Linked DNA regions of Homo sapiens: region 1 is linked to region 2. The links are contacts of gene promoters, found by promoter capture Hi-C in human tissues and cell types (Jung and others, 2019). All regions are on one chromosome and are shown on one strand. The core of a region is centred on a gene start or on the middle of the fragment in contact, and the rest is flanking DNA. Distances in the headings are between cores, read along the strand shown. Region 1 has its middle 28 kb from the start of PGM2. Region 2 holds the start of PTTG2 (pituitary tumor-transforming 2).

Evidence for each region. Contacts are between HindIII fragments. The study calls those that stand out against the background at their distance.
Region 1: a fragment that was not itself captured here is called in contact with the fragment with the promoter of PTTG2 in region 2 in 1 of the 25 tissues and cell types used here (spleen).

Annotation. Positions count from the first base shown.
Region 1 is chr4:37,796,842-37,799,541 of GRCh38, forward strand. No RefSeq gene overlaps it. Among named protein-coding and RNA genes, the nearest start is that of PGM2, 28 kb to the right of the region's middle. The HindIII fragment of the contact is 3,117 bases long and covers 1-2,700 here.
Region 2 is chr4:37,958,971-37,961,687 of GRCh38, forward strand. It overlaps PTTG2 (pituitary tumor-transforming 2), which reads left to right and starts at 1,428. Exons shown (of 1, transcript NM_006607.3): 1 at 1,428-2,158. The coding sequence starts at 1,465. The coding sequence ends at 2,040. All of the region lies in intron 2 of TBC1D1 (TBC1 domain family member 1), which reads left to right. The HindIII fragment of the contact is 2,532 bases long and covers 1-2,160 here.

The DNA of each region.
Region 1 (2,700 bases), core at 113-2,612, 160 kb before region 2:
TTTAGTGCAATTCAACAGCTATCAAGGAAAAGGTCAAGGAGGTCTAGGATAAGGGGCGGCAGGCAAGCGGGCATCAGTGGAGGCCCTTTGACTTTTTGAAGAGCTTCAGAAACAACACTATAGCCTGGAAAGGCTGATCTACACTGGAAGACATGGTAGCTCCTGGCAAGGAATGACCCCAGCCGAGAAGAGCAACTGCTAATGCGTGATGAAGGATGGATGAGGCCTGGGATGCAATGGGCTCATAAAGCACTGACTACCTGGAGTCCGTGAGAGCTCTCATTTCCAGTAGGAAGTTTCACTGTCTCCAGGGCAAATGAAGGATATGTGGACATTATACATTTTTTAAAAAATTTAAGTGCAAGCATTTTTGTTCTCCCCATTTATTTGTTCATTCATTCGTTTATTCAACTAACATCCATTATGTGTTCTTTGCTGCACGCTGAAGATACAAAAAGCATTAAGAAAGGAACTCTGTTTGTAAGAATCTCACAGTTCCTTAGGAGCTGGGTGTGGGATGTTCTTTGCCCCTCTAGATCTATTCTCTGCCCTTCGCCACCTTGCCCAGTGGCTCCTGGAAGCTGACTTTTCTGGAAAGTATCAACAGGGCTCCCTTGCCTTCCAGCTTCAGTTGGGCTCAGCCACTAGGAAGCACAAGAGGAGAGGAAGGGTAGCAGGAGAGGAAGGGCGGCAGAAGAGGAAAGTGAAGCATTGCCCTGGCTTCCTTCATGCCTGCTAAGGCTTAACAATGGCTGCACTTCCCTAAAGCCACAACTGCTGAGAAGCAGCCTGCTTCCAGAACTACAACCAGCTCTTCTGTTCCTGGCTTTTCCAGGCCCAGGGCTGACAGTGGCCCCCCACAGTGTAGCCTGGAAGTGCTTTATCACTCTTGGTTCTCCTTGACCTCTACATGGCCCCTCCATTAAGCTTTCTTTCATTTATTTCCTGTATGATGACATAACAAGGTTAGCTGGGCAATAAGCAAATATCCTATAGTGTCAAGTGTACAATGAGGGCAAGAAAGGATTAATCAGTCCTAACTGGGGGGGGGGGGGTCAGGTGAGGCTGTGGTCTATAAAGTCCTGTCCCTATTCACCCTTTCAATTGCATGCTGAAGTTTCTCTAAGAACATGAAATCAATCACGTTATCTTCCAGCAATGGCAGTGGAAAAATCTGATGACAACCCCAGGAAGAAAGTTCAATGGCCATGTGATTGACTATATAATGATGTTCCATTTATCTAAAAATAGTACTTTGCTTAACTTACACTAACGCACCTTACAGTTATGAGACACTACCTACTTAAAATAGCATACAGTGAAAGTAGACCTAATCTACCTCCTAGTTGAGTAGTAACAAAAATGTCTAACAGTTACTGAGTTCTCAACTAAACCTATAGTATTAATATGATAATTATGTATGGAATTATGCATATAGATATTATGTATAGAAGTGTGTCTACTAATTTCTTACAATGCCACCACAGAATAATAGTATTATTCCCATTTTATAGCAGAAGAAACTGAGGCTTAGAGAGAATTTAGTGACTTGCTCAAAGTCATAAAGCTAGTAAGTGGCAGAGCTGGGATTGTAATCCCATCTATCTCCATTATTAACCACTATGCTCCCTAATAAAAAAAAATTCTCATATCATGTGTTAGCTAAGGTAACATAGGATGCATTAACAGATAAACCCCCAAATGTCAGCGATTTACCATAACATTTATCTCTCACTCATATCAAGTCCAGTTGGTAGTGGTTCATGTGGGAAGAGTCCACTCTAGCTCAACAGTTCAAGACCCAGGTAGACAGAGGCTCTGACCTCTTCAACATGTACCTCCCATGTTGTCCTGAGTGCTAAAGTCCAGCCAGCAGAAAGAAGAGAGAGAGAAAGAAGATTTTTATGATTCAGGGGTGGAAATTCCAGACATAAATTCTACCCTTATTCCATTAGACAGGAATCCATTGTATGATTGGGAAATCAAGTCTAGCTGAGTGTCTAAAAGGAAAGAGAAAGGATTTGATAGACAGCAAGACTCACACTGCTTCCAATTATAACTCCCCAATTGTTCTCAGGTGACAGGAGGCTCTGTCTCAACCTGATGACCAGAGAATGAGATGAAGATCAAGTGGATTCCACAATATTTAGTTTTTGCTGTCAATATCATGTCAGTCAGGAGAACAGATAACACTCTAGGTCTTTCAAACAATGAAAATTTAATAAAAGGAATTTATACAAGGACTGAGAAGCCAAATAGGGAACTGCAAGACTACCCAGAGATTAGAGATACAGGAGGCCAGCACCATCCCCAGGAATTGAAGGTCACTAGGATGAAGTGGTGTCATCAGAGTCCCAAAGCTGGGGCTTTTCTAGTGGGAGATGCCCAGAAGGAGGGACGGGCTATTGGGCAGGGGGTGAAGCCACAAAGGAGACCCAACTACCAAAGAGGGAGGGAGAGAGAGAAAGAGGGACTCTCTTCCTCATTGCCCCAAGTCTTCCTTTAGAGCCTCATTTTGGCTTGTAAATTAAAAACAAAATTCTAAGTACCCCAACCAACTGAATGTACCCCTCTTGGCCAAGGAAACTCCAGAGAAACTGGTTTCCCAGCCATGATGAAACAGACACACCTCATTATACCTTTTCTAATTATGGAGAATTTCTGTAATGAGATTCTGTTGGGAGGTGGAGATTCACAACT
Region 2 (2,717 bases), core at 178-2,677:
CTTGAATTTACAAGCTCCATATAGAGGTTACATCAATCAGTTGATATACCAGGTCCAAGTCATGGCTCTGTCACTTTCTAGCTAGCTGTGTCAGGTTAAGAGCAAGACTTCTAATGATACCTTTGAATGGCCCTTTGTATTTGAGGTGGCCTTATGCAAATAAACAGGCACAGTTGACCCTTGAACAATGTGAGGGTTAGGGGCGCCAATCACCTGCATAGTCGAAAATCCACCTATAACCTTTGACTCCCAAAAAGCTTAACCGATAGTCTTCCGTTGACCTCACCAATAACACAGTCGACTAACATATATTTCGTATGTTTTATGCACTATATCCTGTATTCTCACAATAAAGTAAGCTGAAGAAAATGTTATTAAGAAAAATCATAAGGAAGAGAACATATTGCATTATTCATTAAGTAGAAATAGATCATCATACAGGTCTTCACCCTCATTGTCTTCACGTTGAATAGGCTGAGGAGGAGGAGGAAGAGGAGGGGTTGGTCTTGCAGTCTCAGAGGTGGCAGCCGCAGAAGAAAATCTGAGAACAAGTGGATCCATGCGACTCAATCCTGTATTGTTCAAGACTCAACTGTATATTTTTGCATATGGGCTCAAATACGTACGCACATATGTCACTGGGTCAAAGATTCATAGAATGAATTAGACAACAAGAATATTTATCATTGAATTGAAATGGCTCACTGCAAAAGTGCCCTCAACTTATCTCTAGGCCTTAGAAACAGAAGTGACCCTTTGCTGCTGTGAATCAATAGCCTGGACTAGATTGGGGTTGGGTTGGCAAAGGTATATAGTCATTGCCATAGTCCAGTATTCCTGCCCAAGCAAGCACCATTAGTAGTCACGTTGCTCAGAGAGGGCCTCTCGGCTCTCCCCACCACTGCATGCTGGATTGTCTGCCACCAGTAGATCAGAGTTGGCAAAAGGGATAACTCGGGATGAAACATTTGAGCATTTTGCAGTTTAGAGAAACTTCAGGGGTGCTGCTTTAGTAAAAAATGGAAGACTTGCATTTATTAAAGGTTAGTAAGAAGTGAAATAATGTATGCAAAAGTACATTATAAATTAGAAAATGCAATAACGGCAGAAACTATTTATTTATTGGTTGCTCTGCCCTTTACCTAAGTGGTTTTTGACCATTTAACAATGTGTAAGAGTTGGGTTTTACCTCCATTTTATGGATGTGGAAATAGGGCTTGGATGTTAGCTAACTTGCCCAAATCTTACAGCTAACAGAAAGTGGTACTCCCGAGATTCCTACCCAGGTTTGTCTGACCTCAGGCCTGTGCTCTTTATATGAGTTCATGCTAACTCTCAGATGATGTGCTAGGCACAAAAATTAGATATTACACCAATTTCCACTATAGTTAACATTCTATCTAAATATAAAGTGGGACCACGGTCTTAGATGAATGTGGCTGTTGAGAGCGGCAATAATCCAGAATGGCTACTCTGATCTACGTTGATAAGGAAATTGGAGAACCAGGCACCCGTGTGGCTGCCAAGGATGTGCTGAAGCTGGAGTCTAGACCTTCAATCAAAGCATTAGATGGGATATCTCAAGTTTTAACACGACGTTTTGGCAAAACATACGATGCTCCATCAGCCTTACCTAAAGCTACCAGAAAGGCTTTGGGCACTGTCAACAGAGCTACAGAAAAGTCAGTAAAGACCAATGGACCCAGAAAACAAAAACAGCCAAGCTTTTCTGCCAAAAAGATGACCGAGAAGACTGTTAAAACAAAAAGTTCTGTTCCTGCCTCAGATGACGCCTATCCAGAAATAGAAAAATTCTTTCCCTTCAATCTTCTAGACTTTGAGAGTTTTGACCTGCCTGAAGAGCGCCAGATTGCACACCTCCCCTTGAGTGGAGTGCCTCTCATGATCCTTGATGAGGAGGGAGAGCTTGAAAAGCTGTTTCAGCTGGGCCCCCCTTCACCTGTGAAAATGCCCTCTCCACCATGGGAATGCAATCTGTTTGCAGTCTCCTTCAAGCATTCTGTCGACCCTGGATGTTGAATTGCCAGCTGTTTGCTATGACATAGATATTTAAATTTCTTAGTGCTTTGGAGTTTGTGTGTACTTGTATTAATAAAGCATTATTTGTTTAACAACATAATAAATACATAAATATAAAGTGGGTCATATTCCTCTTTATGTGCATCTGTCTCAGCTGTCCCTTGTTTCTATATTTCTTCCATACTACAGCCCGTACTCTTTGGGGATATGTCAACATGATTTACTTCTGTAGAGAAACAGGAGACAGGAAATAGCAAAGGATAAAGGAGAAAAGGCCAGGGCCAGGCCAAGAACTTCTACATCTTTTCTTCCCAGCCTAGTGTGAACCAGATGAAAGCCTTAAGGAGGTCCTAGCAGCAAAGGGAGATAATTAAAAGAATGAGAATTTTGTGGAATGCTAAAAAAAAATAGGGAACATATTTGCAGCTAGGACTAACACTGATTATCTTAAAATGTCTATATGGCTAAATAATGTTCATGAAATCCCGTATCTTATTCTGCTAATGTCTTACAACTTAAAGCACTTTTATGTCCATGCCTTGAATTCTGTACAAAGCTTTGATAGAGTCACAGATGTCTGGTGTCAATCCAGATCACCTGAGAGGCTTCAGGGTTTCCTCTCTGGTTCCTGAATTCCAAGACTTAGTGAGTTTCCTAGGCCAGGAGCTGCTATTCAT